Regions from separate parts of the Homo sapiens genome. Here region 1 is linked to region 2. Evidence: promoter capture Hi-C in 16 types of primary human blood cells and fetal thymus (Javierre and others, 2016). All regions are on one chromosome and are shown on one strand. Each heading gives the region's core, a stretch centred on a gene start or on the middle of the fragment in contact. The rest is flanking DNA. Distances are from core to core; before and after follow the strand shown.

The links. The method cuts DNA at HindIII sites, captures the fragments that hold promoters and counts their contacts. A CHiCAGO score of 5 or more calls a contact.
Region 1: a contact is called between a fragment that was not itself captured here and the fragment with the promoter of NKAIN2 in region 2, in 1 of 17 cell types (naive B cells). The highest score is 5.1, in naive B cells.

The regions. Positions count from the first base shown.
Region 1 is chr6:127,119,379-127,124,968 of GRCh38, reverse strand. The region is part of intron 1 of RSPO3 (R-spondin 3); the gene reads right to left. It overlaps LOC105377989 (a long non-coding RNA gene), which reads left to right. Exons shown (of 14, transcript XR_002956387.2): 4 at 3,233-5,590. Among named protein-coding and RNA genes, the nearest start is that of RSPO3, 3.5 kb to the right of the region's middle. The HindIII fragment of the contact is 657 bases long and covers 3,032-3,688 here.
Region 2 is chr6:123,802,049-123,808,140 of GRCh38, reverse strand. It overlaps NKAIN2 (sodium/potassium transporting ATPase interacting 2), which reads right to left and starts at 4,276. Exons shown (of 7, transcript NM_001040214.3): 1 at 3,887-4,276. The coding sequence starts at 3,940. RefSeq lists an enhancer at 5,471-5,520. The HindIII fragment of the contact is 9,489 bases long and covers 1-6,092 here.

The sequences.
Region 1 (5,590 bases), core at 2,111-4,610, 3.3 Mb before region 2:
TAAAAGATCCATGTTATTGAAACTTTAGAGCAGAAAATGGGATTCTTAGCAATCAATGACATTTAGATATTTAGCATTCTCAGCACCCCCACAGTCTTTGAGAATGGAACACCCCATTCTTTTCAGTATTGCTGGATGACTACTTTAATCAGAATGCCAGTAATATTCCTGAATGGAAAGATCTGATGGGCAGAATTGAAGAAACAGAAAAGATGGCTAGCATCTTTTACATATGTATATGCTGTACTTCATGTGTTTAGTTATGGTTGCAAAGCATTTCAAATTTACTAGGTTGTCAGATATTAAATTTTAAGATATTCAATCATGTGAAACCCTGAGAAAAATCTCTAATTAAGAAAGCAATCTACATTTGCCCTTAAAATCAAAGGCCAAGCAAAAAAAAAAACTGTGCAATTTATGATGCAACATTTTTTCAAATTATTATTTTCAAAAAAAAAATGCCAGCACATAATGCACTGTTAGAAGAAATAGTCCTAACCAAGTCAAACATAATTTCAACACACTGTCTTGCATGATCCTTACTGTGCTCTTAAAACTGAATGATGTTTTCCTAATGGTAACCAAAGTTTTTTCTTACATTTCATGAAACACAATATCCACTCTGATGGCATTTCAAGAATTCACTACTTGGAAAATAATTTTTTTGGGGTGGGGATGGGATATGTGAGTGAATAGTGAAGAAGTAGGAAGAGAGAGATCAAGATATGTCCAAAATGAAACATTGGGATGGAGACAAAGGGGAAAAGACAATTTGGCAAATCAGTATATCTAGAATAGTTTTATTTTTTCATAGCTCATTCTTATAATTGCAGAGGTGTATTTTGGTCTTAACTCTACATAGGGCTCTGAAAACTCTACATAGTACTCTGCCAACATTGCATAGGATTCAAAAGAATTATTACAACTAAAAAAAGATTAACCATTGAACTAGAAAATATTTTAGACATTTAGTAGCAATCTGGAGATCTCTGTCCAGATTCAAATAATCTAAAATAATCAGATGTCTAATAAATTCATTTTGGAGCAATGCAGCAAGGGTTTCCCCATAATAACTGGAAAATAAAATTTTACTACACGTTGTAATTTCCATTCATTGCTTTCTGGGGACCTAATTTGTACAATATTAAATGCCAGGGAATTATTTAATGGAGAAATGACTTAGTAAAGCTTATCTATTTGCAAGTTCAAATACTCTTCATATTTCATGTTTAAAGGAATATTGAAATAACAACATTAAATCAGTTTCATACTCATTCTTACATTCTCATTACTTGAGTAACTTGGGGCTAAAAAGAAGGTATTTTAAAATTACCATTTCTAACGTTCTTGTTAAAATCCTTCTATTAAAGTAATAAACGGAATTAAAATAGTGTCACCATGGGATATTTTGAGAAACAACCCTGATAATGTAATGATGATTAAATTTGAGTTCACAAAGATGTTTTTCCTTGCATTTAGATGTTGCCACTACCGCATATGAATTTGCATTTGTCTTGATTTATACAGCTGTTACACGACGTATCAAAGAATACACTTTCTTCAGCAAATTCTATTCGTGTCTGTATCTTTAAAACACTGTTACTCTCAAAAATAAGGCAGACTGGTGAGAAACGTAGACAAGTGTGAAAAATACATTGTAGTCAATATCCAAACCAAACTTTCATTTGAAATTAATATTACAAAATGTATAGTAGAATTAAAGATTTTTCTATTTTATCAGTTAACTTGTTATTTTCCAGGATTCACAACATAATCACAAAGGGTGTGTCATAATTTCAAAGACTGGCTCAACATCTGAAACAATGTCATGAGCAATGACCAGTACATTCCAATAGTCTGTTTTTATTTTATTACCATGAAAATTATTTCCTTTTTATTCTTTCTCTCTTTCTTCAGACGTCTTTATGAAAGACTTGCGAAGTTTTATAGATTGTGCAATGAGTGCTTTTAAATTATTATGCATATAATGGCTTTTCAAAACTTGCATTTATCTAGAGTCTGAACAATTAAAACCGAGCTACTAGATGGCATCAAATAAAAAGGATGCTAAATGCCATCTGATGTTTCTAACAATAACCTTCTGGCACAGAATAATCCCATAGTATCTCCTAGATAATCAAATGATATATTCCGTTTAGAAAACTTTACTATTAGGTATTTAATTCTTTGACATTGATCACCATTATATAAAATAATGAGTTCAAAAATTTCCAGTCAAGGAGAACAGTTTATTCTCTAAACCTATTGAATAAATGATGGCCTTGAGACCATCTAATTTATTACTTAATAAACCTGATATCTTCTCTATGACCAGAATATAGAATAAAGGTGTACATAACTGTGAGATTCATGGCAGGAGACAAGTTCCACTTGCTAGATATATGGCATTATGTAGGTTACTGAGCCTCTAGTTCTCAGGCCTTTTCTTTCTAAGATGGGAAGATAAGTACCTGCTTCTTCACTTCAGTGGCTATTTCAGGGCCCAAGCAACTAATCCACGTGAAAATGTGAGGCCCCACTAAGATTCTGTGGCTATCATTATGGCAAAAAAAAAGTGCTTCTTAATGTTATTAGCACACAATCTGGAATTCAAAGGTTGAGTCATTTTTAAGAGCTGTATACCAATTCAAATAGATAAAAATTTATTGTGTATTTATTCACCCATAACTAAATAGACATTTTAAAGTACAAGGGTCTTGTCTTAAAACATTGTTTCTTTTATGAGAAGAAACACTAGTTTGTAATAACTAGGATCACTAGTTTATATCAAAGTAGAGACAAATGGAATTACAGTTGTTTTAGGGAAACAGGAGAATACTGATATGGCTTTATTTGCTATTTCTGAGGATAATGCATGATTCTTTGGACATGACAATATTTAACACTTCAAATGAATGTTCTTGTTTACAAAAAAGTTTCCTACTAAATCAAGAGAGACCATTAAATTTTTTGTAGAAGTTTTTAACACCTAATTTTCTACCTGTCATATCTTTATTGATGATTTTAAGCTTAGGAAATTGAAACTATATAACTACAGGCCAGAAGACTCCTTAAATATTCACTTAATTGTCTCTTGAAGAAACAATTAGGATAGCCAGCCTCTTTTGAAAACACGTTTGACCACATGTTTTCATTTTAAAAACTTTTCCTAGTCCTTACTTGAGAAACAGGAACTGTGAATTGAATCTTTTTGTTCGTTTTTTTCCCCCAGAGATTTCAAAACAAACGGTATATCTGAGTTTGTGCACATGCAGTTTGACCTTGAGTTTCTGGGCATTTAAAGAGGACCTCTCTACCCTCCACTCCTTCCTCCTTAAGTCATACTGCACCTGCCAAGAGTCTAGTCTGTCTCCTCCGAGGACGCAAGGGGTCGCCCCTCTACCAGGATTGCACCAGCAAACCAAGCCGCAAACGCAGACTCAAGTGCGAAGGAGCAAGAGCATCGCTGTGGGTGCTGTCTCCCAGTCCCACTCCCACAGAAAAATTGGAATTGCAACCCAGTTCCACTATTCCTTCTTTCATCCCCTCAACACAAACAGAGGTCTCCTTTGACTTGGCCTTGAGATGATTAAGGCAGGTCGAAAAGCAGTTTGCCTTTTGACTCCTCTCGGCCCAACCTAGAGGTGCATCATCCCACAGCTCCCTGAGGCAGCGCCCGGGGAAAGCTTCCTGCGCCGTGGTCCTCGCTGGGGGAGGTGGGCACAAAAGGACTACAAGCTTTCTTTCCTGTGTCTTCCTTCAGAATCAGGGGCCCCAAAACTGCAAAGCGAGACGCCTCTGACACTCAGTACCCTGTCCCTCCTTGACAAGTGTGTGGCTCCCAGCCCGGGGGTCCTCGGTGGGGGTAAAGGAGAGAGCGTGCTCTGGGACGCCCAATGGGCACGGGCTGGAAGAGCGGATGGAAAGCAGAGTGGGTTGCGCTCCAGCCCGGGCTCCCTATGCCCACTGACCCTGAGACTCAATTCCCCAGGCCAGACCCTGGGAGGAGAGGAGGCGGGGACCGCCAGGCGCGTGGACACCGCTGAACCCCAGGCCTCCCCTTCCGCGTCCGGGCCGGAATGAAAGAGTGGGTGGGGAGTTACCAGAGTACACACCATTCGGAGGCCAAGAATAATAAATCGGATGCCCTGACATATTTAGTTTGGGCTCTCCTGCCCCCTGCTAGGTGATCCTAAAGGCGGTGAGGCCCGGCCAGGGCCCCTGTCGCTCTGGCACTGCCACCTTTTTAAAAGGCAATTTTCAGGTGAATCAAACCTTGTCTGGCCGAGGCCAGCAATACAAAGGGAGCTTTCAGGGGACCCTCATGCCCAGGGGCAGGGCAGGGACAAACAGCGGCCGAGAAGCGATTACTAAATTTCCATCTCACACAAGCCGGTGTTGTGTCCTCCGCGCTGCCCCGACGTCTGCCCCGAAAGGCTTCCCGGGCGGGACGCTGGGAGAGGGATCCCCTTGGGAAACCAGGTGGGGCCGCTGGGCCTGGGCTGCACGCCGCGGAGGTGCGAGAGCCCAGAGCAGCAGCATCGCTTCCTGCCCCTCGCGAGCTCCAGGAGAAGTTTCCTCCTCCCTCTCTCCACCAGCGCCCCCAACCATAGAGCCAGGGTCGCCCCTGCTCTGAGATCTGCGAAAGGACTCCCCATGGGAACACAGACACTAGAGCAGCGAGGGCGCCAGGCTACCCTGGAGCGAGGAGAGGTGACACCTTCGCATCTGTCCCTTCATCTTGGGAAGATTCTACCTTTCAGACAGACCAACCCAGGTTGAGGCTGCCGTGGTGGTGTCCGCTTAATTCCAGCTAGGACACCGTCTTAAGAAGCCATCACAATCCAACCCTCCAAATAACAGCATTAAGGGCAGCGAGGAGGCGAATCTTTAGGGAGACCCCACTCTCTGTACGTGTGTGTCCCAGGGGACACACTTGAAAGGGCCAGAGATGGTACAGACGCTCACATGTGACAAGAGAGAACCTGGAAACTCCGCACCTCCGGCTCCCCACAGCTGGGGTTTTGCTGTCTTCAACCCTCGGGCGGGGGACGTCCGGCAGCTCTGCAAACGCGCAGACACGCGAACCCCATCGCCTCGCGCGCCCTTTGGCTCCGCTGGTGCGTGTCGGGGATGCGGCCGCGCAGGCGCTCGCTCCCTGGCTTCCTGGCCGGGTAGCGGGCGTTCGGCTACCGGAGTCCAGCCTAAGGGCCCAGCCGAGGTCTCCCCGCGCGAGGCGGTTGCGCTAGGTGAGCGGGTACCGCGGCCGCGCCTCCCTTGTCATTTACTCAGCGGTCAGAGGCATCCTGCGTCTGGGAGTCCCAAGTGCCTTCGGCTGGGTGCCCCTGTCCGATCCTCAAAAGGAAAGCACAAATCCCGGGTGCGAGTCTAACCCAGGACCGAACTTTCCCGCGAACCTGAAGTTACCATGGGGCGGGAGCCACCTTAGCGCCGCGTCCGCCCGCCCCTCGCACCGGCTAGGATGCTGCGGAAGGCAGGGGCGCCGAGAGGCAAGGGTGAAAGACGCCGTCCATACCCCCAAAGCCCGAACCTGCATCTCCTCTGCGAGGCGCAGGGCGGGAGGACCGCT
Region 2 (6,092 bases), core at 3,027-5,526:
AACGCTTTATTTTCTAAAAAGTAATAAAATAGCACATGATTATGAACACTGCATAAAATCATGATCACTGAAATATTCCATAATTATAATAAAATTGTTTTTAATTTAGTCTACACTCACAACATCTTAAGGAAAAAAAATATGTACCTTTGAAAATGGTTAGCAATCCTGTGATAGAAAGTAACTGATCATTCTTAATTAAGTTTCAAATGTACTCCTTCACACAGCTGCACACACAATGTGTACTAACCTAATTGTTAGTTGCACCTGCTCCAAGTTAACAATATTTCATACAGCCCATGGCAATAGTGGCATTTTTCAAGTGTTATTCTGTGGAGTGTAAATCTAAACTTTCTTTCAATAGTTTATGACATGTTTTGTGCCACCCAGAAGTCTAAAGTACAAAATAGGGGATTTTGAGTTTCCTTACTTGAAAACAAATCTGTCCTTTCAGTCTAAATTAAGTTATATTCTTTCATATTTTAACGTATTTTTTCACACTGAGAGATATCAGAGTAATTTTTTCCACATTTATAAAAGAACTCTGATTCAATCAAACATTGGGGAAAACATGCCAAAACTTTCACAAGTTGAAAGTTACAAATAGTAAATAAGAAGTTAAAAACTTCTTGTCCTATACCACTACATCCACCATTGCAAATGCAGTGATGATTTTTGTTACTATCTGAAATCTTCAGTTTCTGAGTATTAAGGACAGCAATGATAAAAAGAAAATTACCTTCTTGAGATTATGAGCTTAAGCTCTGGATTCTGCACATGGAATAAATCTGTTTCCAGAGATCATACTCCTTTACGTAGGAATCACCCTAAAATCTGAAGTTGGCATAACCATACAACTCAAAGATTTTAATTTATGATATATATGGAAACAGTTTTTCATAAAATGGAAGTTTTGTATGAATCTCTATGGTATGGAATTCTAGTTTCTTGTTTTATAAACGGATCTCCTGATTTTTGAGAAGAGTATATGTTTATCAATACTTGTAGTCTGCCAAACATTAAATTAAATGTATATTTAACTAATTTAAAGCACAGATATAGAATTCTGACAGGTAAATGTCTCTGAAGAATCTGCCTCTGTCCCTCAATTGTTAAATGGTCAAAACACCGTGTCTGGTCTGATAATAACTTAATAAATGAGATCACCATATCCACAATACCAAAAGCCACCTCATCCTCTCCTAAGATTAGCTGCAAATTGGTACAGATGTAAATATTCCCTTAAATTTATTTAAAATACAAATACTTTGCTCCGAGGACTGGAGATTAATGTTTCCAGAACCTTAATCAAGTCACATAATAAAGCAACTGAATAAAGTTTCTAACTTAGAGTCTCTTTGGCCTTTTTTCCTGTACAGTTACCAAAAAAAAGATGCCCAAATGTTACAAGAACACATACTAAACACTTGAGAAGTAAACAAAACTGGGTTAACTTTTATTTCAGTCAATGGTACATGAGTCATAACTTAGTCTAGAAACCTGGTTTATTTGTAAAACAATCTACTCATAATAGCGCAAAGACATAAAAAGTTTTTAAAAATCTATTGAGAGCAAAAGGAAAACATACACACCCACCTATTTTTTAGTGCAGGGCTTTGCAACTATTAATTTGCAAAAGAATTATTTTATTTAAAATCAAATACCGTATTTCCAAAAAGCAACAATTACCAAGAATCTCTGAGGTCCTTTGAGGTGTGATCATTTCACCCTATCAAAACAATTGCATTTTCTTTGTCCTTTGTTTTTTGTTCTGCATCTGCGTTAACATGGCTGCTAATTATATTAGCCTGGTGGCACATAAAGTCTGAATGGGAAAAATCACATGATTCTCATATAATATAAAAACTCCTTAGGATTCCAATGTACACTTACTTAGATTGTGCTCTTCTGTATTACAGCTACGTCTATTCTGTTAGAGAACTTAATTATAATTCAGAATTTCTGTTTCATAAGTGATGGTGCAACTCTCCAAGACACCATTGTATGTATGGATGCATGCATGTACTCAAGAGCATATGTACATACACACATATGTGAGCACATAAAAACACAAAGGAACCTTTAGCTTTATCATTCTACTTTGAATAGATAGCTTCCCTACTGGTATATTTATGTTTTTCTAAAATTAAGTTCTTGAGGAGTTTGTATTCATCACACAAAATGTCATACAGACCTAGTGCATACATTTGCCATAAGAAAGCCCTATTATATTACATGATTAGAAGTTAAATCACATTTTTCAAATTTTAAATCGAAAAGAGCATAAGAATGATCTACACACCCACTCATTCTCACATTTTTATGCTTTCACACAGTGAATCAGCAAATGTATTCTTTTTCTGAATAATATATAAAAATAAGAATGTTTTGAAAACCTTTATACAGTTTGGCAGACTTAGCCTAATGGGTTGTTTAACAAAGTAAACTCCCTCATTGTTTTGGTTAGCTTTATTATTAAGAGTAAAAATCCTTCATTGCAAAACTTATATGAATCTGTGGTACAGAAAAATAAACTGGTTTACACATCATTGAGAAACTACCACATTCTGAAAATTACATTTATAGTTCCATCTTTGTCTTACAACCAAGTGCATAAGCGCATAAATCACAGATCAAAATAGACACCATCAGATAACTTTCAGGGGAAAGAAAAACATCCTAAGACAACACACAACAAAAAGCACTGTTTCAGCTAAATATTAAACAAAGCAGCAATAACTAACACTCATGGGCTTCACGACAACTGATAAACAAGAACACTTAAGGAATTCCTCTGCCAGTTTCAATGGCAAATCCTTGCTCTTTTGAACACTTTACTGATTGGACACTTAAACATCTTCTGCCTTGTAGTCACTTCAACCTTTATGAAACAGTTGTTGAAAACGGACATGACTATTCCAGTTAATTTATACTTTCTAAGGAAATATATTTAATGACAAGTGTGAGCAAGTAGCTCCTACCTCAAATTAACCACTTAGAGTGGTGTATTTTTCACCTCTCAACTCTCTACTCAGACCCTCCTTCCATTGCCCTTAGGGAATTGAAATTCAGAGACATGACGTTTTCCATTATTGGTTCCTTGCCCCTTTGCAACTGTACAACATTCCTCAAAAAGTACATAGAATTCTCCATCCTATAGGATCAGACAACAGTATCTATTTCAGGAGCAATAATATGCATAATGTAAGACAGAATAGTTTTTCTTGGAATTGTCTGTGTTAATTGTGATTTAAAGGTTACTGGTTCCGTCTATGACAATGGTGTTGCTGAGTTCACCTAAGTATTTTTGTTCAATCTGCATACTTTAAAAACTCAATGTGGCTAAAACTCAAACAGTCTAAATTAGACTGTTGTAAGGATACCATGTGCCCTAAACAGTGGTTTTTTTAGAGCATTATACTTAAAGACAACATTTTCCTTAAAAAAAGAAAAAAAACATGTCTATGAAGAAACAAAGATACTGCAAAATTAGTATAGAGAAGAAAAGTCCAAAATTCCGTATTCCTCTGTTTAACAACCTGTACGGTAAATTGTAGGTGACAATCACGTTGTTACATGAATAGGAATGCAAAGCATAAAGAACAAGAGCTACATCTTGCTTTTCCTAAAGAAATTAAAGACAAGTTTAACCCGCACCTGCCAAACTGTCTTAAAAGGGACAGAAATAGGTGGGAACGGAAAGGCTCACCTCTCCTGTACCCCAGAGTGCGTCTCCCTGAAATCATCTTCAATATAGGCAATATATCTGTCACCTTCTCTTTTATCTTTTTCGTCCATTCTAGTCAATGGCAGACCCTTTGCTGCACTCCCCTGCCCACTATCTCAAAGACACATTACAGAATAAGGGGACCCAAGTGTCACTTACCAGTTGCATGCCACAGATAAAGATAAGCGTGCACCTGCCACTGCAATAACCCATGGTTTCCGAGACCCCTGCCACAGCCAGACTGTCCCACGTCGGCCACCGTCGAGCCCCCACTTTATCCAATCAGATCGCGGGGAAGGACACGCAAACCTGCCGAGGGCTCGGGGGCTCCGGGCTGCTGCTGCTGCCAGCGTCCTGGGAAGTGACAGGCATTAGGACCTGCTGGCGCGGCGGCGGCGGCGGCGGCAGCTCCAGCCGCGCCCGCCACACATACCTTCACTCGCTCGGTGCACACGCCGCGCCGCGGGCAGTGCCGCCTGCGGAGGCGCGCTCGGGGCCCGCAGGGGCAGCAGCGGCAGCCTGGCAGCGCCGCCGCGCCCTCGGGCATCTGGCCCGCGAAGTTTCGCCCCTGCCGCTCTCCGCGCCGCTCGCCTCACGCCCCCCAGCGCGGCCGCCGCCCGACGCGCGCTCGCCCTGCGCTCGCCGCGCGCCGGCTCCGGGGGCGGCAGAAGCGCGCGAGGGCCGCTGCCCGCCTCCCTGCGCAGCCCGCGGCTCCTAGGCACCCTGCGTTGCTGGGCCCGGCGGGCGGGGGTGGGGCGGGGAGCGGGGCGCGGGCCGAGCGGGGGCGTCCCGGCTCCGCGGTCCCCGGCGGCTGCTGCAGCGGCTGCTGCGCGCAATGATGCGGGTCCGCGCCGCGTCCCAGCAGCGGCGCTGCCCCTCCCTTCGCCCAGATGTGTGAATCCTCCTCCTACAACAAATCCTTCATCCTGCTCCCTGCCGCCCCCTCCCAGGGGGCCAACTTTGAGGACCGCAGGGGCTGCCGCCCAGGCGGCCGCAGGCGGCGGTGTCTAGGCGGAAAGGAGCGGCGCGAAAGCGGCGGCGGCGGGGACCGGGGCCTCGGGGCGAGGAGTCTGGGCGGCATGACCGCGGTTTGCTGAGCTGAAGTCGGTCGTGCTCCCAGAGCCACTCCGCGGGAGCGAACCGAGTGTGTGTGTGCGCGCGCGCTCGGGGGAGAAGGGACCAAGAGGAGGGTTAGGGAAGGAAGCTGGGGTCATGGAACAGGGGTGCAACCGAGGCATCCAGAGCGGCCGGAAAGCCCGAGTGGCGGAGAGGCCAGAGGTGGCGAGAAGGGGCGCGGCGGCACCGGACGCACCGCCCAGCACCTGGCTCCCCTGGGCTCCCGAGGATCTGAAGGGTCGGAGCGCGGAGAGCTACGGAGCCGACCCTGCTTGGGGAAGGGGACCGAGTTGCTGCTGGAGTTGGGAAAAATTAGCAACCGGAGGGAATAGGGATGCAATGAGTTGCTGTTGCTGCTTCAAACTGTTGTTTGTTTTCACTTAAAATACTAAAGAGTCGGAGACTAGTTTAATACTCAGTTACTTCAGCTTCACAGCAGTCCCAGCTGGGTGTGGATTCCTAGTGGAGATGCACCAGCCTCCGCTGAGCACCGGCCTGAAAGCTGTGAAGCGGCTGCTACCTGCAGAGACAGGCTTCGGAGCCCGCTGCTGCCACCTGCGGGCGGAAAGCTGAAGGGCGCAACATGCTGGCCCAAGTGGCTGCCCCTGGGGCGTGGATATTTAGGACCAAGTTTCCTTTTTAGCCCTGGCAGCTAAGGAAAGCAATCCTAACTTTTCCAGGAAGTGAAGATTATTTGTTGAGATCCACTGAGGAACTGACTCATTGGGGTGAAGTGTCGCGATTGATAAGAGGATGGTTTAGGGAGCTAAATAGCAAACAGCTCCCTAGCACCCTTCTTAAGAGATTAAGATGACGAAGCCACATCAAGCAGAGAGCTCTCTGTAGCAACTGGAACTTGGCGCCTACTGAGAAAAATGGCATTTATACAGGATAAAGTTATGCTGGGAACCACAAATAAGGATCCCGAATGATTGCTTCCTTTGAATAAACATTATGACGTATCAGAATGACTAAATACAAATAAATTGAATAGGGCAGAGAGACTATTCTCCAGAGCCTGGCACTGAATTTTCAGAAACGTTTCGTCAGTCCTAGGGAGCCAAAAAGGGATTAACTTTGTTAAATTTATGGAGCACAGATATTTTATTGCTATAATGAGAATGTCTGGTTTTAATCGACCCATTTGTAAAGGGGCTTTTCTTCTGAAAAGTGTCTTTCAATGTTTAATAAAATTCCCAAGAGCCCAATATGTGCTCTTAGGCACTGCAAAGCCTGGAAGGTAATAGTT